6 separate regions of the Homo sapiens genome follow, and all the other regions are linked to region 1. Evidence: promoter capture Hi-C in human tissues and cell types (Jung and others, 2019). All regions are on one chromosome and are shown on one strand. The core of a region is centred on a gene start or on the middle of the fragment in contact, and the rest is flanking DNA. Distances in the headings are between cores, read along the strand shown.

Region 1 (3,255 bases), core at 147-2,646:
TGTCCGACCGCGAACGCGGAGGGCGGCCGGGCAGGTGGGGGTGCCGCCCGAAGGGCCGGGCCGGGTGCTGGGGCTGCAGGCGCCGCCGCCGCGCTGTCAGCGTCCGCCCCGTGGCTCTCGGCCGGAGGAGCGGCGGCCGCCGGCCCGGGGCGCGAGTCTGGCTGAAAGGAGCGGGCGCGCCGGGACCACCCGGCGATGCTGTCGCCGCCGCCGCCGCCTCTGTAGCGAGCACCCGAGCCCGCCGCGGAGAAAGGTCAGTGAGTTTCGGTTTGTTTCTCTGCTCTGCCGGCTCCGGATCGGGGGCGGACAGAGGGGTGCGCAGGGATGTCTGCGCCCCTACGGCGGCCGCGCCGAAGCCGTGGAAGCGGGAAAGGGCAGCTGCCGCCTGCTGTAACTGGGGAGATCTTCTGGACCGCGGAGGGGGTGGCGGGGCCGCAGGGTCCCGGGGAGGGGAGCGCGGGGTCTGGCGGGGCACGGGGGAGGTGGTCCCGGGAGTTGCGTGTCTCCTGAGAGCTGGCGGAGTTGGGCGGGCGGCCGCGGCGGGGAGCGGCGCTGTCGGCTGCTCGGCCGAGTCCTCGGATGCCCCCTGGAGCTCCGGTCCGAGGGAGCTTTCCTCGTGCCCGCGCCGCGCGCGCCCCTGGGTGTGCACGTGCGCGCGCGCCCGCCCCAGTTGCGCCCCCGGCCCGCACACACCCCGGCTCATCTTCTCCCGGTCCCCTTGTCTCGCGCCTTCTCCAGCCCTAGAAGTTGCCCCAGGGCCCCTCCCGGGATTAGAGAGCGCTGTGAAGGGCCAGATGTTGGGGGTCTTTTGTGCAGACACACGCGCCTGGGGCGCTTGCTCCTGGAAGGACAGCGGCAGGACAAAGCCAGCTGGACTCGTGGGGCGCTGCTCGGGAAGCGGCGGTCCCCAATCCCGCCTGGGGTCGGGGCATGGCTTGGGGAGCGCTGCCTGGGTCTGGAGAGAGTAGAGAAATCGCCAAAGCAGAGTGACGGTGACTTGATGAGGTGACGGTGACTTGATGAGGTGGCGGTGACTTGATGAGGTGGCGGACAGGGGCAAACGAAAGAAAGATGCTCGGGATTGCCGCGCTGTGTGCCTGTCTGCGCGGCTGACTAGGCGCCCCGCATTCCCATATGACCGGGTTACCTGGTAGATTTTGCCAGTGTGTCTTTGCCCCAAGATGTTATTCCCCACCTGCTCCGATTTCTTTCTTTCCTAGGGCTTACTGTTGCTAGTAGGCGCTCTGCCACCAGAGGGGAACTCGTGGGCGGGGGAGACTGCGGAGGAGGGGGGAGGTGGTTATTTATCCTGTAGAGACAATTAGGAGCCGTGACGCCCCCTTCTCGGCCGCCAGCCCTCCACACCTCATCTGCCTTGCTCCACCTCCCTAGTGCACCCGCTCCAGCCCCGTCTGCCCAGGAGGGCGCTTGGATTTCCTTCTCCGCGGCGCGTATCTAACCCTTCCTGCATGTATTTCACTGCAGGCTGAAGAAAGCTCAGTCTCAATTGTGTTTCCTGCCTGTCAGCCTCTTGCCTCCTAAACGTGTACCATTTCCACTTGATGTCATCACGCAGAAGGGGTGAAAGAGACTCGGTGACAGATACAGGTAACCCCCCACGATCTGGGTAGCGCCTGGGTGTCTCTGGGTCATTTGGGCCGACAGTGCTGGCACAGGGCTGTTTGGGTGGTTTCTGCATCAACATCGTTCCTATCTGTGAGAAGGTGTGGGGGCTGCTAAAACTCCTGGTTCAAAGAAATAAATTGCAAATGACTTTATACCTTCCCTTTGAAGAAGCCATTGGAGGTAGGTGCAGGGTGAATTTGGGATTGTAGAAATCCCACCTGGTTTCCTTTCATGGGAATTTTGATATAATTCATACACAGGCAGTTGTATCTGAATGTTAGGTTTCCATAGATGCCTGCTTTCTTATCTGTAGTAATAGATTTAGGCTTCAGTCTAGAGGTGGGGTATCCTTTGTTGAAAAGGTATCATTGGAAGGCTGATTGTACTTTTGCCCAGTGCTCTAATTGAGCACCGGTCAAATGCAGTGACCTTCGTATGAAATACTGTCTTTCTTCTGTTCCTTCATTGTAATAGTGTTTGCAATATTAAGAGAGACATGCTAGCAGTGAGTACTGGGAGGTGGAAGGGAGGGCTGTTGGGGGCAGCAGAAAGAGAACAGAGAAAACAGCTTGAGTGAAGTTTCCATTTAGATAGCCATGAACCAGTAGACTCTCATTCTGGATTTTATCTTTAGGTTATTGGGGCTTTTCCAAAAACTCTGGCCTGTTCTTTTCTTTCCAAGGATAGTTCTGTTTTGATGTCAGCCTAGCCAGATCTGGGGTTATCTTGATAAGAGTGCAATGAAAAAACGTAACCTTCAGACTTAGCAGGACACTCCGGCATTAGCATTTTCTGCTAGAGGGCAGAGTCCTGCGCATCCTACACTAGTAGCAGGGAATAAGAATGGTTATGGAAATGGGCTTTCGATTTTTCTTGTAGGAAGACAGATTGCTGAGGGCCAAAGGCTCCTGGTCTACTCTCTTTTACATTGCAGTAACACCTTGGTATCTGTGACAGATTCTCTCTTCACCATTTTCCTCCAAATCCCTTGAAAAATGAAGTTAAAAACTTGAAAGATTTATTATTCACCTCCAATGTAGTTTTGTTTTGGAAGGTGACTTTAAAAACATAGGTGACACTAGCATTTATCCTTCTACTACAAGCATTCAGGAGTCACTAGTAAAAGCAGTTGAGTTATCTAGTCCCAGGTGAAACAAAGGCCAGTGCTTTGCAAAGATCAGATGAGTAATGTGGTGCTAAGATAGAGGTATTTTTGACAAGTAATTTTTATGTCAGCAATAGTACAGGGTGTGTACTGTGTTGCTGCAAGAAGAAAAAACATGTGATGGGATAATAGGGAATGTAATAATGCAATAGAAACAAGGGTGTGGTTTTTTTTTTAATAGAAAGAATAAACACTTCGCACACAAAATTCCACATGGCAAAACAGTAGCCTGCCCATGTAAATGCACGTCCAAGAACAAAGATAGCCACAGTGCAGTGTTAGGTTTCATTGTGGTTTTAAATTGTGTACAGTAATAAATCATAATAAAGTGTCCATTGATGCTTAATTTTTTTTATATAAGAAGGAGGCTCCCCACCCTCAGATGTGTTTAGCTTTAGGCTGGAGGATCCCTAGAGGCTATTAGGCTGATCTCTGCCTCCAATGCCTGCTTCCTTTCTACAATG
Region 2 (3,046 bases), core at 332-2,831, 1.5 Mb before region 1:
CATGCACTTAAACACTACATGAAGCAAACATGTCTAAATAAATAACACTGAAGGATAAAGAATCGTTTCTGCAGTTTAAAAAATATCTAGTGATAGAATCTATGACTAACTGCCGGGCGTGGTGGTTCAAGCCTGTAATCCCAGCACTTTGGGAGGCTGAGGCGGGCGGATCACTTGAGGTCAGGAGTTTGAGACCATCCCAGCCAACATGGTGAAATCCCGTCTCTACTAAAAGTATAAAAATTAGCCGAGTGAGGTGGTGGGAGCCTGTAATCCCAGCTACTCGGGAGGCTAAAGCATGAGAATCACTTGAACCCGGGAGGTGGAGGTTGCAGTGAGCGGAGATCGTGCTACTGCACTCCAGCCAGGGCGACACAGTGAGACTCCGTCTCAAAAAAAAAAAAAAGAAAAGAAAAAAAAAGAATCAATGACTAACTGATCTTCAGTGCTTCCCACACATCTTTCACGTTTTTCTCCTTCCTCTCCCAAAATTTGCCCTTTGTATTATTTTTGCATATAACATGTACATACATATTATTCTTTACCCTACATCTCACATTTGCTTTAGGCTTTGGTGTACTGTTAAATAGATTCAATTTTCAAAAGATTGCTCTTTTACTATGCTTTTCCCAGTCAGCTATTGGCTGGCTGAGTCATCCTGTAGTCTTAATAATTTCCTCAAGAACTGCTTATGGGAAAAAGATTTCCTTGGTTATTAGATGTTCAAAATTATTTGTCTGAAACTTTTATGGGTGAAATACAGATTCGCTGAACGTGAAACCTTGACACAACATTCCTTCCTTGAGGATCTGACAGATGTTGCATCGTTCTCTCATGTTGAATGTCACTCTGGAGAAACCTGAAACTAGCCTGATCTCTTTTTAAGACAACTGACCTGATGATTTTGTCTAACTGACCAAAGTCTTCACTCTTTTAAAATCCAATACTTACTAGAGAATGACTCAATGTTGATTATTTTCAGTCAGTTTTCCCTGGTGTAAAATATCATATCTATCTACCTATCTATCTATCTATTTATGTGTATGTGTGTACACACACATATAAATGTTCAAATGCTTTAGTATTTTAGGAAAGTGTATTTGAAATTTTTAAAAATATTTCTAATGTCTTGTTTTTTTTCTTCAGGTATTCCTATTCTACATATGTCGACTCACATCCTTTGTCTGTTTTCTTATCTTTTTTTCTGTCTTTTAAATTCTTTGTTTTCATTTCATTTTGTTTGCTTTACTCATTATTTCCTTTCTGTTCCTTACTGTGTTTTTCACTCTATTCTCCTCCTGCGTTCACTTTCATTTTCATATCTGTGATGATTTTTACTTTTACTTCTTTCCTGATTTCTGCCAGTGTAACTTTTATCTCCTCTTGTTGTTTCATCATTCTTCCCTGAGTCCTTGCATTTGTAGTCTTCCTTCATAAAATAACTGCTTCACCAAATGTTTTAAATCATGGTGAAATATTTAAGTATCCAAATAAAAGATTTTTTGTTTTGTTTTGTTTTTTCCCTGAGTGTAAATCTATTGAGGAGTCTTTCTGCTCTTCACCGCTCTTTCCCCTCTTTTTTTTTTTTTCTCTCATAATACCTCTGTATCAGGATTGTGCCAGTTCCTTTCAAAAGAAATTACTTACCTTTCAAGTCGAGCACGGTGGCTCACACCTGTAATCCCAGCACTTTAGAAGGCCAAGGCAGGCAGATCACCTGAGGTCAGGAGTTCGAGACCAGCCTGGCCAACATGGTGCAACCTCATCTCTACTAAAAACACAAAAATTACCCAGGCATGGTGGCAGGTGCCTGTAATCCCAGCTATTCAGGAGGCTGAGGCAGGAGAATCACTTGAACCCAGGAGGCAGAGGTTGCAGCGAGCCAAGATTGTGCCATTGCACTCCAGACTGGGTGACAAGAGCAAAACTCTGTCTCAAAAAAAAAGAAGAAGAAGAAAAAAAAGAAACTATGTATCTTTCAGGCCGGGCACAATGGCTCACGCCTGTAATCCTAGCACTTTGGGAAACTGAGGCAGGCAGATCCGCTGAGGTCAGGAGTTCAAGACCAGCCTGGCCAACATATGAAACCCATCTCTACTAAAAATACAAAAATTAGCCAGGCATGGGGGCACATGCTTGTAATCCCAGCTACTCGGGAGGCTGAGGCAGGAGAGTCGCTTGAACCCAGGAGGCGGAGGTTACAGTGAGCTGAGATCATGCCACACCCTAGCCTGGGTGACAGATAGAGACTCCATCTCAAAAAAAAGTGTTTTTAATTTAATTTTCTATATTTTGTTCATTTTTAAGAATGTAAGAAGAGTAAGAATGCCAATATTGCTATTCTAAGGTAATCCAAAATATCTTTTTAATGGTTTCAACAAGATACAAAAAATATTTAAAAAAAATTATCAGATAAGATTAGAAATTAGCTTAATGGTTCTTATTGTTTATTTCCTGCTTTCAACTTTTTCATGTCAACCAAAAGAGTCAAATTCTAAAACATTTGAAGAGATTTATACTGAGCCAAATATGAGTGAACAATGGCCCATGACACAGCCCCGGGAGATCCTGAGAACATATGCCCATGGTGGTTGGGCTGCAGCTTGGTTTATACATCTTAGGGAGACATGAGACATCAATCAATACGTGTAAGATGTACATTGGTTTGGTCCAGAAAGGTGGAACAACTGGAAACTGGGAGGTCATAGGCAGATTCCAAGATTTTCTGATAGGCAATTGGTTGAAAGAGTTATTATCTAAAGACCTGGAATGAACAGAAGGAAGGAAGGAAGGAAGGGGGGAAGGAGGAAGGAAGGAAGGAAGGAAGGAAGGAAGGAAGGAAGGAAGGAAGGAAGGAAGGAAGGAAGGAAGGGAGTTATTTAGATTTCTGCTTTGTCATAACCCATGCATTTATTTAACTCCAAGTTTCCTGAGGACCAAATCATCAGTCAATTTAACAATAAATTATTGGACACCTACTTAGGTGTCCAGAATTCAGCAAGGCACTGTGGAAGAATCTTCTGAGTCAAAGAGTTATAAGTCATGT
Region 3 (3,238 bases), core at 377-2,876, 1.0 Mb after region 1:
TGGATTCCTCATTTTCTGCTTGGCAGTGAACTTGACTTCCTAAAGAAGAGTAAGCCTGGTGGCAACTGTGGGGAAATAGAGCATGAGCACTCCATCAGCTGGGTTAAACCAAAAGCCAGCCACCCGAGGAACACTGAACAGAGCTGTAACATCCTGCCAATCATGGAAATGTTGGTAATCACTTTCCATGCTTTGCCAGTTCTCTTATCTTAGTAGCAAGTTGTGAAAAGCTGAGCTGGGAAAATTACACTTAATTTTACCCTGTAGCTACCAAATGACTACCAAATAACATATTTTAAAGATGATACTTGTATTTAGTATAAAATACACAAAATGCTATGGTGATCCAGGTAAAAGTTTTTTCATACTGGTCGCTACTTTTTCTTGAATACTGTCAGTAAGTGACATATTTAAAAATATAATTAAAAAGAAACAAAATAAGCTAGGTTTGGAAAACATACAGAGCTAGTTTTTCTGGATACTTATGGGTAGCTTTATTAATCTTTTATTAAAAAATGTCATGCCAAAAATGGAATATATTTATGAGATTTCAATTAATGTCTACTTTCGCTATATGATAATTCTATCAGTACTTGAAGAGGGTACTTTCTAAAATCCTAGGGAAAAATTCACAATGCACCAGGAGGAAAGATGATCCCAGTGATTTTTCTCACATGACAAATTTATCAGTTGGCGTTGGTGAGCACTTTTGTTGATGAGTTGAATAATTTTTATGAGTTGACTAATATATTGGGATATATGGTTGTGGGTAGCTCTATTGGCCTACGTCCTACAGTGTGGAAAGTCAGATCACTCTCCTTTCTTTTCTGGCCTTGAACTGTATCAAAGTAAATGCCTACAATTTCTTTTCTTAGGATAATAAAATGTTGCTTCTCAGTGAAAGTAAGACAACTACAAATTTGAGTTAAACACTGTGCTTTAAATATATTTTTAAAAATTACATTTGGAATCATTAAAAATATTGGACTTTCACTGTAGAATAAGAAAATTCAGGAAAATATTTATGGAAAACATAGAGTAAAATTCTCCTCAATTGCATAAAAATGACAGGTTATTTAGCTTGGGCTGGAAAGTTCTGAAAATATCCCACTGGTAGTCCCAAAGCAACAAGGAAATTAACACGGACAATGAGAATACTACTTTTTTTTTTTTTTTTTGAGACGGAGTCTCACTCTGTCACCCAGGCTGGATTGCAGTGGCGCGATCTCGGCTCACTGCAAACTCCGCCTCCCGGGTTCACGCCATTCTCCTGCCTCAGCCTCCCGAGTAGCTGGGAATACAGGCGCCCACCACCACGCCTGCCTATTTTTTTTGTATTTTTAGTAGAGACGGGGTTTCACTGTGTTAGCCAGGATGGTCTTGATCTCCTTACCTCGTGATCCGCCCGCCTTGGCCTCCCAAAGTGCTGGGATTACAGGCGTGAGGCACCGCGCCCCGCCGAGAGCACTGCTTTTGATATGTACCAAAAAACTAATCATTTCAGCATCCTCATTACTTAAGCACCTTACATCTAGTTGGGTACTGCAAAGATATAGCCTCATGCTTTTTAGAAGTGATAATAATATTAACTGGAAGATCATTGTCAATTTTAAAATTGAGATTAGCGTTTGCTCTTTCTTAACTTGAAGGACTGCCCTCGAGGTTATAATTACTGAGTGATGTGAGAAAATGAACTCTAACACTAAAGTTAGTTTCATGTAGCCATATTTACCTCAGTTCTGTAGGGGGTGGTGAAATAAAAGGGCATGTCCATTGGGCCCTCTAGCATATTTAAGATGTGGGCAAAGGCAATGAGAAACATATGAAAGCTTGTTGGGCTTGTCTTCTGACATCCCCCATCTTCATTTTCAGAACAGTAGGAAGTATGTGGTCTTGTCTCTCTGGAAAGGGAACATCTGCTTTGTAGACCCAAGGTTCACTAGCTACATCCACCCCAAGGGCAGCCAGCTCAGCAAGACACAAATGTTCTATTAACAAATTTGGCCCTTGTCTCCTGCCTGTAATCTCCACATTGTCTTTTGCTCTCTTGGCTTTTGACAGGCCCTTTGTAAAGAGCCAAAAAACCTTGCTGCAACCTGCAAAATGAAACATAAACAAAAAGGAGTGAAAAGGAATTCCTGTTGCTGATAAAAAGCCATGAGCGCTAATTACATCACTACTAGTCCATTGAAAGAGAACAAGAAAAAAAGCCTGAAATGAAGATATGAGGAAAACAAAAACAAAAAACACGAATAGTGAAAACTTTGAATTGTTTTCTGTTTGGGATGCTTGTGGATACACAATTCAATTAATGTTTTATCTGTGGTTCTTTACTCTTTTATTTTTTTATAAAAATAAATCCTGGCCAGGCATAGTGGCTCACTCCCATAATACTAACACTTTGGGAGGGCAAGGTGGGAGGATCCGTTGAACCCTGGAGTTCCAGACCAGTTTGGGCAACGGCAAAACCCTATCTGTACAAAAAATACAAAAAGTTAGCTGAGCGTAGTGGCTTTCACTTCTGGTCCCAGTTACTCAGGAGGGCTGAGGTGGGAGAATCACTTGAACCCCGGAGGTTGAGGACAAGGCTACAGTGAGCCGTGATCACACCACTGTACTCCAGCCTGAGAGACAGAGGAGAACCTGTCTCAGAAGAAATCAATCAATAAATAAAAATAAATGAATAAGTAAATACATCCCAAATTTTTAAAATTAATATTGCTTCTATGATTAGTGTAACCTATTTACTATTCTTTCTTACTCTGTTCTAAATTACTTTTTCTTAAGTCTTTACTTATTTGGAGTTTAAAGTTCTCAAATTTTTATATTATGAAAAAATATCACATTAAAATAGATTTATTTCCAAGATCATCTTTTTGCTCTTGCTTTTAATAAGGTATTTACAAGGCAGGCAGATAAATATTAAAAGTCTTCAAGAGCAACTAGATTTATCATAGAGGATGTATTTACATTGTGATTGATAGTAAAAACCAAACTCCTAAATGAGAAAAACATCTCTACATAAAATTATTAGAACTTATTATACTTTTATAGCCATGGATCTCATTAGAGGCCATTGTAGGATGATGTACCACTGAGATTTCTTATTCTAAAACCACTAGCAAAGTGAAATATTCCTGATACATGCTCAGAGGTTGTATGCATATTTCTTTTCTAGATCTTATACTAGTTGCTCTTTCTAAACTACAATATTGTAATTATGGTAAAAATAATAGAA
Region 4 (2,968 bases), core at 94-2,593, 1.3 Mb before region 1:
CACTAGTCCTGGCTCCCCACATCTTAGTCATCTTCAGTTCCATCATCTCACTTTCTTTGTATCCGTACACAGACTAACACTTCATTTCCCCCACTTCCAACCCTGTCCTCATGGCGTTCCTAGAAATGACATAGGCGGACATCTACTAAACCCTTACTTGGTCTGTATAAGTGGAGGAGTTCTAGGTGAAGGGAACAAAAGCCCAACTTGCACCCTGAAAACAGAGAGTCACGGCCCCTCGATCAATTCACACACTTGCACCAATTTACCGACCCAGAAGCCCTTGAATGAAGAGGAGGCCGGGTCTCCTTGACGAAGGACCCTACCACACTGTCAAGAATTAATACTGTTGCTTTTTCTCCCAGCCTTCCCCAAAGGGACCTATAGCCTTTTGCCAGGGTGACTGTGCACTGGGGAAAAGGAATTAATCAGACCTTTTGGGGACTACTGGTGACTGGCTCTGAGCTGACACTAATTCCAGGAGACCCCAAACATCACTGTGGTCCAGCAGTCAGAGCAGTGGCACGTGGAGGTCAGGTGATCTCTGGAGTTTTCACTTCATGTTTGTGTCCATCCCCATAGCACTTTGTTCAGGACAACGTGGCAGGGCCCACACTGCTGCAGTGGATTCCTGGAGGCTTGTACCTCCCAACCCCCAACCCAGAGCTGCCTACAGCCACAGTATTATTCAGTCCAAAGCACCTCTGTGACAATTATATTCCTGGCTCTAAACTTCCACTGGTGCCCAGTTGTTAGGAACAATGCAGCTTTCCTTAGCCCGATAGTTAAAACCCTTCACAAAGTCTCCTTCCCCTTTATTTCCAGTTTTCCTGGCTATAAATCCTCAACCCAATACACTGTACCCCACTCCCCCCAGCCCCCAGATACACCATCCCCCAACACGAAACACTTACCCTCTTCTCAGCTTTGCCTTTATCCACGCTGTTCCCTCTGCCTGGTATTTCCTTTTGGCTCCTTTCTCTGGATTTGTGTGGTGCCTGTTTTAGCACAAATATACCATGTCCCCTTGTAAAATGTCTTTTCTTCACTTCAGCTGGTAACAGCCAGGGAAATGAGCAAAAACGTGTGGATAGATTAATTCACCAGCATCGGGGAGCCGGGTGGGCGGGGGTGGGGGGTACAGTGTGGCGCAGGGCATGTCTTTCTGTGGGTAGGTCGTTAACAATTTTCATAAACAAAAGATTGCCTTGTTTATACCTGTTCATCAGAGTCAGCATTTCTTAAATCTGTTTAAGGTGAAAGTGAGTGCTTTGTGTTTTAAAAATCATATGGGAAGCACAGAAATAGGAAATGTTCACTTTGTTTAATGTGGAAGTATATTCCATAACAGGTGGCCTCTCAACTTGCACAAATAAAACAAAATTGGTTGGCTAAAATCTATCAGAGAAGAAGAGGAAGTAATCGCCAGGTGGTAGGACCAGGAGCAGATGGGGACTATTTACTTAGATCCTCAATTCTTCTTGTTGAGTGTCCCTCTAATTAAGTACCTTTCCTTAGATGTTAAATAAACTTTCATATTTTTAAATAGTATTTTTTTTAGAAAAGTGTATTCCCATGCCAGTTTCTCCTTCTTCCAAAGTCAGGGGTAGAATAACCATATAGCATTAATAGAGTCTGTGTAAGCTTAAATAGTCCAACTTTCCTTTCAGGCTTTTTATTTGAAGTTTCCAAATTACACAGCTAAAATAAAAACAGCACAGAATTTAAATTGAGACCATTATATATCGCAGGGACTTCCCCCACCCCCATATTAAGTAAGGCAGTGTCAGCCCTGGTGGTCCGTGCAGACTCAGTGCACTGGAGGCAGAAGTTCCAGGTGGACTGACTCCTGCCCCCACCCAGACCTCTGGTGCTCCCAGGCAGTCTGGAACAATCAGACTCTGGTGCTCCCAGGCAGTCTGGAACAATCAGACTCTGGTGCTCCCAGGCAGTCTGGAACAATCAGAGTTGCCCTTGGTCTTCCGGAAATACTGTAATTCCCTGTGCAATGTTAGCTCTTGACCATCTTTGAATTCTTTTTCTTAGACTTACAAGGCTCTGTCGCTGGTTTCCCTCTCACTCTTCTGACGACTACATTTCAACTTCCTTCAACAAACACTTATGAAGCATTTATATAGCACTTACTGACGGCCACAGCCAGGTGCAGTTTTGTGGATCTGTACACAAATGAATTAGATGAGCCGGTGCCCATCGGCCCTGGGGTTCACAGACCAAGGCTCGCTCTGCCGGCATCCTGGGCTCCCTCCTGCCGCCTGCACCTGGAACGCTTGGCGGTCTCCGTGCCTCTTCTCCAGTTCTCTCCTCCACTGTGCTCCTTTGGAAAGGCTTTTCTGTCACGGCTTCAATCATAAAACTGTATTCCTAGTCCTATTTCCTCATCTGAGGTGAAGCATGAAATCTCCTCTTGTTTACCCCGAATTCAGCCAGCTCACCACGAGCCCTCTCTGCATCTGTCAGCCTCTGTCAGCAGCTGTAAAAGCTTCCCTTCTCCCCAGACCCCCACATCTGGAAACCGTCTTTAAGTCGTCCTCCCCTTTTTACTGTGTGTCCAGGAATCCACTTTTGGGCTTCCTCTGACCGGCCTCTTCCTTCCTTCTTTTCCTCCTCCCCGCCCCACTGCCTCCACCTACTCTAGTCCCAAGGCCGTGCCCCTGCCCCAACCCTCCCACTGTGCTCTTCCCACCCACACCAGAGTCCCCTTCTTTAAATCCTGTCCGATCAGTGTCACTCTCATTAAGTGACAGAGATGATGTCTCCACCTTTTATATCTCCAACAGCATCTAACCCAACACCTGGCACTTACTAGAGGCATCAACGATGCTTGTTGTTCTGTGTGGCGAAGGCACACCTGGATTCTGGATGGTCAGTCTCAGCTCTCCATCTTTGCTGCCTCACAGGGACTCCAAATGTGGAGCGTCTCCCACTGCCCTTAATTAGGGAAATTCAG
Region 5 (3,090 bases), core at 127-2,626, 1.2 Mb after region 1:
ACATTGTATTTAATCTTTATGTTTCTTAGTCTAGGATGAACAGTTTATGCATATTTATTTTCTTTCTTGCCATTGAAAGACTATATGTTCCTGGACTATCTTGAGTCCCCGGGATCTCAAAAATTTTTACCTAGGTCTCTTAGCTGGAGTGTTCTATTTGGCCCTAAGTTAATGCCAAGTTACTGAGAAATAACTATTCATATATTTATCAGAGAAGTGACAGGGAATACTTTTTCTTATCTTTTATTTCATTTTATTTTCTCATAGTTACCATATCCTGTTTGGAAATGTTCAGTCCAGAATGTTTGGGAATTTGGAATTTTCTCTGGGTCTTATACTCATTGTCTCTGCTACTTGGTTACCTGGGACTGTCACAGGGATTCCATCCTCAAAACCTTATAAAAACCTTTGCCTGCTTAATTGCCTCAAAGCAATTTTTGGAGGCTGTTTACCTGCTGTGAAGAAGTAATAAAGAGAAGCCTTCTGTTCTTTCCAAACTTCTTTATTTTAACAACATTGACCAAAAAAAAAAAAAAAAAAGAGAGAGAGAGTCTAGGTCAGTTGCCTTACTCAATGTTTGACACTCTTATTAAGTGGTTTGTTTCTTAGAAGTTTGCAAACCCCACAAAGTGGGATGGATGTCCCTGCAGCAGAATGTCTTATTGGGAGGAAGTTGATTAGAATCCACAATGTAGTTAGACATTCTGGTTACTAAATATTGTGTGCTGTGCTGCTGGTCTCTTATATAATAATGATTACTTTCTCCTCTTTCCCTGCCCCAGATTCCGCTAACCAAAGTTTTGTTTTTACCAGACTTTAATTGGAAGTATTTTGAATAGTTGCATTACAGAGTAGAATGATTTTTAAATTTAAGGTAACATATTGCAATTCCTGTAAATTCATTGACCAGTGCCCACCACAGGAATTCAGTTGATAACTTCTTCAGTAGGATGCAGCCTTCTCATAAGTTACTGGTTTTCCTAGCTCCCTAGACCCTTCCTTTTCCCTTCCCTTTATCTTCTGCTCTCCCATCTCTAGAGGCATGAACAGAGCACCACACTACAGCCTCTTTTACTTTATTTCAGAGGAAAATGTACCTTTTATTTCAACCTATCTAAACTAAATTACACATCTGGAAATCCCACCTTTAGTAGTCAAACAAGTATGCTAACTTATTTTCCAAGACAAAGAAGAGGTTGTCTCTTCTATTATTCTTTCAGGCTAATGGCACAAATTGAGTAGCTTTTAATTTATGTTTCTCCCTGGTGTAGTCTCAGATAAAATATGTTGCAGAAATAAATTGGACTTAGAGAAACCAATGCATTCTAAAGATATTTTACAACTTCCAAAGCAAACTGTAATCTCCCAAATAACTAACAAAGCAAATCCTGATGAGCTTGAGAAGGCAGGGCTCATGAGTTCAGGTTCAGAGCCCAGCCTTGATACAATGACCCCCAACTCTGCCAACACCCTGATGCTCACAGAATGTGCTATTTGCTGGACCACTCAGAGGGACTCTGCAGCATGTTGCTGACCTGAAAGCATAGCTTCACCATTTATTTGGACAGTCCTTCCCCAACAACAACATTCTTTACCAAGAAAAGACAGAGGAATGAAGCTTTGGAGATAAGCTGCAAGCGGTGAAGCAACGTCATGTCAGATGGGAAATACATTGCTGTTATGTGATCAGCTTTTGCAGAACTTAAAAAAAAGAAAATCCAAATATTCTGTTAAACAAACTTGCTTTCTACTCTGCTACAGAAGAGTAAGAAAAATAGCATTAGAATTTTTTTAAGCATCAACTGGGCACAGTGGCTCATACCTATAATCCCAGCACTCTGGGAGGACAAGGCGGGTGGATCACTTGGGGCCAGGAGTTTGGCACCAGCCTGGCCAACATAGCAAAAATCTAGCTCTACTAAAAATACAAAAATTAGCTGGGAATTGTGGTGCGCACCTGTAATCTTAGCTACTCGGGAGGCTGAGGCATGAGAATGGCTTGAACTTGGGAGGTAGAGGTTGCAGTGAGCTGAGATTGCTCCACTGCACTCTAGCCTGTGTGACAAAGCAAGACTCTGTCAAAAAAAAAAAAAAAAAAAAAGAGGAACTTTTTCTAGGCATCAGAAGCTGGTGTGGGCTCTTCAGTTAAATATACTGCAGTAGGTGCCGTTGATGCTCCACCTAAGCCCCCTCCTAATCTTCTCTTCGGCATACCCTAGCCTGACTCCTTGTGGCCAGCACTTACATTTCTTTGCCTGAGGGTTTTATCTGCTGTCAGAGCCTGGTTCCTTGCGTGCACAGCAGACCAGAGGTGCTGAAGAATTAACATCCTCCAGAGAAGCCTTCAACTAATGACTGCTGACTTTCCTAGAATCCCAGAGGGTTTAAGCGCTGTTCACCCACAGGTCCAGCTGGCTTGTCAAGACACCCTTTACCCGCCACCTGCCCTTTCTTGTCTTACTCCTCCCACCTCCTTACAGGTGTTCCTTTCACCTTCCATATAAACTCAAATACTGTTCTCAGGGTTTGTTTCTGGGAGTCTTACATATGTTATATGCTCTCTAGTACTGTCTGAATGGCTTTAAATAGATTTACACCTGTATAGTACAAACATGAGTCTTCTCAGATATTGTAAACCATTATTCAAAGCAGTTAATAAAATAAAAATTAGATATTCTTATTATATCTTTAGAAACCCTAAATAAATTCTCTCATAAGTAATTGATATACTTTTTTTATTTCATTTTCCTGGAAGGAAAAGCAACACGAACCAAATTGTTCTTGCTATGACAATATTAAAATATGATTAAAAGTGTCATATTTTATACTCGTCCTAGGGTAAACAACCAAAACCCAATTTATGTCTTCTGTATTATTTAATATTACTGTGGAAGAACATAGGGGATGACACTGTTGAACAGTGTAATTTGAGTGTGGAAAACAGGGTATTAAATAGCATCATATAAAGCAGGAAGCTAGCAAACCAGTCGGAAATATTAGAAAACTCATTAGTTAACCATATTAAGGCACGAATTATATTTTCTCTTTTACATTTAAAAATCAATAATACTGGTTACCTGTTAATTGGTA
Region 6 (3,078 bases), core at 496-2,995, 1.2 Mb after region 1:
TGGTCCTTGGGAACTTGTAAAATCCAGTTTCATACCCTACCTATATCTACTAAATCAGAATCTGCATAATAGCAGGATCTACAAGTGATTTGTGTGCACATTAAAGTTTGAGAAGCTATGCTTTAAAAATAATAACTATGTTTCTAAGAAAAAAAGCCCCACAATTTCATCTTTTTAAATGGACCAGAAGTTTATATTTTCCATTTCTTAAACACATACTTTATAGTCTTAGAGGTCATAAATTTCTTTTCTTTCAGTTATTGTTTTCTGACAAAACTCTATAATCTTTGAAATTATCATATTTAATGACTGTATGGCATTATCTCAAATTTGTATCCATGATTACTTAATCAGGTATTGAAAATAGTGCATAAATCTTTAATACTATAGAAATATTTTCGATAGTGTGACAATGGATGGCCAATACAATCTATATAGATTTTTATATGCCTTGCACTTTTTGTCAGATATCAGATTACATATGACTGAATACAAGCATGATCAATTTCTTGTTTGATTTTTACCAAATTTATTTACAAAAGGTTTGTTCCAATGTGTCCTGTTACCAGCATTAGGCAAGTGTGTGTCAGTTTTACCACGAAACCCTTGGCATAAAATTTTTAAAAGATAAAAAGATTATGCTAATGTAATAATTTTCAAATGGTTTAATCCCTCTTAGCTAAAATAAATTTGCATTTTATATGTAAATGATCTTATTTTCCAATGTAGATCAATTTTTAAGGGACATTTTAACTAAAAACAATCTAACGATGAATATCCTAGAATACAGATTAAGCATTTAACATAGAAACACCAAAATCATAGATTGTAATGAAAACATTCACTAATTAGGTCACTCCTCTCCATTTTTCACTATTTACACACAAGACTAGGTAATGTCTAGATCTTAGGCAAGAAGCACATTAACCTTGTAGCACATATGATGGGCCAGTAAATAGCTTCATATAAAATATCTAAGGGAAGATACTCAACATTTCTAGCTTGTTTTAGCTTGAATGGAAAATACAGTGTTTGGAAAGAGTCATCAATATTTAACAAACTCTGGTGTCATTAAAAGTCCATGGTTAATGATGGTACTTGGAATTTTTTCAGAAGATCATTTTGTTTTTACTTCAGTGATACAATGATGTAATTAGAATGAGATTAAAGTCCCAGTTTTTCTAGGTTCTATCTGTGTTATATTAAACAGTTTATTTCATTTCCTCATTTGATTTCCTCCTTGCTATTATTTGAATGATACTGTTCCCTCTAAAATTTATGTTGACACTTAATCCCCAGTGCAATAGTTTAAGAGGTGTGACTTTTGGGAGTTGCTTAAGTCACAAGGGTTCTGCCCTCAGGAGTGGGATTAACACCCTTATAAAAGAGCTCCAAGTGGAAGAAAGCATTGTCTTCCCCTTCCATCCCCTCTGCCATGTGGGGACACAGGTTTCTCTTCTCAGAGGATGATGCAGCATCTCTGTGCCATCTTGGAAGTGTACACTGGGCCCCCTTAGATGTAAAACTTGCTGACATTATAGTCTTAGACTCCCAACCTCCAGAAATGAGAAATGAATGTCTGTTCTTTGTAAGTTGCACAGTCACAGGCATTTTGTTATAGCACCACGTGGACTAATGACACAGGATTCTTGGGGTGTTGCATTGCCAGCCGGAAACCTCTGTGGCCAGCGGTGCCATTGCCTGAGTTTAGTTCAGGCCTGCTGGGCTTGTTCTGCCCACTCAGCCTGGCAGGCTGCACTTGGCTCACACTACCAGCCTGGATCTCATACCTGCCAAGGGTGAACCAGTTGCGGAGAGGGGAGATGTGTGAGTGAGCAAGCCTGGGGTCCCAACACTGTGCACAGCCAGGCACTCTGGCTGTGGCGGGGCCGGCAGCTCCAGGAACCGGCACGGGCTTTGGCTTCCTGGGAGGCTGCAGCTGGGCCAGACATACTGCACGCAGCTTCTATTGTGGGCACCAGGGAACGCAGTGGCAACCAGAAGCTTGGAGATGCTAGGAACGACAGAACCCCAAAGAGGGGTGTCACAGCCCTGGCTTGGGGAGCTCCTAGGTCTAGGCTCCTTGAAGGGCCACAGCTCTTCTCTCCTTCTCTCTCCTCTCCTCCTTGTCACTCCCAAGATGGCAAGCAGGTGGGCATGTTTCAGACCTATTTGTGTTACAGCTCTTTCTGTCCTGCCATTTGGTGAGTCACGAGTTCTTGTCCTGTGTCCAGGAAGAGAGAGGTATGCAGAGAGCTGGAGGGTGAGTAAGGCAAAGGGGTGCTTTATTGAGATATAACACAGCTCTCAAGAGACTCTACGTGGTTACCTCTTTTCTGCAGGCAGGTCATCCCATTGTCTGCTCAGCTGTCAGCTGAGAAGATACCCAGAGTGGGTAGCACCTCTCTGCAGGCAGGGCTTCCCAACATTGCCTGGTTCTTGCTGAGTTCCAGTTTTTATGGGCTTCAGAAGGTAGACAGTCTCATACTGACTGGTCCATGTGTGGCCATCAGCAGCCTGGAAAAAGCATCGTCTAAGTTCTCACTCTAGTCCATGGAACTGGCAGCCAGGCCCCCATGCCTCACGCCTCCCGGTTTGAATGTGGGGCTTCACTGGGAGATCTGCCCCTTTCCACCCAGGAACCTGTCTGCCTCCTGCCACCATTCATGGCATTTAGGCTGTTCATGACAAGGGGTGCCTGCAGCCCTGTGCTGAGCTGCCCTCAGCACCCCCTCAGCTTCCCTCCCATGCTCGTCAGCACCCAAAGTCCAGAGGGGGCTGAGGTGGCAGGGGGGTGGCGTGTCAGTGCTGCTCCTAGTGCAGGGACATCTGGCCAGGTTGTGTCAGTGGACAGGCTTGGCTACAACTTTGCTTCAAAATTGGAATGGGCGCTAGGAGTGGAGAGAGGCCAGGCAGCGGGAGCAGGCACTTCTGAGCCTGCAGGGGAAGGGGGGCTTCCCGGGCCCCCAAGAGCACAGGGATGCTTGGGTCTGCAGCCACATCTGGGTGGCTGTAGTTGTGCTAGGGAGCCCAGAGCTCCTGCTTCACCAACTCAGAAGGGGACTGGGCTCCCGTCTG

Evidence for each region. Contacts are between HindIII fragments. The study calls those that stand out against the background at their distance.
Region 2: a fragment that was not itself captured here is called in contact with the fragment with the promoter of RNF152 in region 1 in 1 of the 25 tissues and cell types used here (stomach).
Region 3: a fragment that was not itself captured here is called in contact with the fragment with the promoter of RNF152 in region 1 in 1 of the 25 tissues and cell types used here (mesendoderm cells).
Region 4: a fragment that was not itself captured here is called in contact with the fragment with the promoter of RNF152 in region 1 in 1 of the 25 tissues and cell types used here (stomach).
Region 5: a contact is called between a fragment that was not itself captured here and the fragment with the promoter of RNF152 in region 1, in 1 of the 25 tissues and cell types used here (dorsolateral prefrontal cortex).
Region 6: a contact is called between a fragment that was not itself captured here and the fragment with the promoter of RNF152 in region 1, in 1 of the 25 tissues and cell types used here (IMR-90 fibroblasts).

Annotation. Positions count from the first base shown.
Region 1 is chr18:61,891,148-61,894,402 of GRCh38, reverse strand. RNF152 (ring finger protein 152) reads left to right here and starts at 1,396. Exons shown (of 2, transcript NM_173557.3): 1 at 1,396-1,608. RefSeq lists a silencer at 61-210. The HindIII fragment of the contact is 14,100 bases long and covers 1-3,255 here.
Region 2 is chr18:63,377,363-63,380,408 of GRCh38, reverse strand. The region is part of intron 1 of KDSR-DT (KDSR divergent transcript); the gene reads right to left. Among named protein-coding and RNA genes, the nearest start is that of KDSR-DT, 12 kb to the right of the region's middle. The HindIII fragment of the contact is 7,971 bases long and covers 1-3,046 here.
Region 3 is chr18:60,864,849-60,868,086 of GRCh38, reverse strand. No RefSeq gene overlaps it. Among named protein-coding and RNA genes, the nearest start is that of CDH20, 470 kb to the left of the region's middle. The HindIII fragment of the contact is 7,027 bases long and covers 1-3,238 here.
Region 4 is chr18:63,206,506-63,209,473 of GRCh38, reverse strand. All of the region lies in intron 2 of BCL2 (BCL2 apoptosis regulator), which reads left to right. Among named protein-coding and RNA genes, the nearest start is that of BCL2, 110 kb to the left of the region's middle. The HindIII fragment of the contact is 4,136 bases long and covers 1-2,968 here.
Region 5 is chr18:60,676,146-60,679,235 of GRCh38, reverse strand. No RefSeq gene overlaps it. Among named protein-coding and RNA genes, the nearest start is that of MC4R, 300 kb to the right of the region's middle. The HindIII fragment of the contact is 8,619 bases long and covers 1-3,090 here.
Region 6 is chr18:60,739,360-60,742,437 of GRCh38, reverse strand. No RefSeq gene overlaps it. Among named protein-coding and RNA genes, the nearest start is that of MC4R, 370 kb to the right of the region's middle. The HindIII fragment of the contact is 4,222 bases long and covers 1-3,078 here.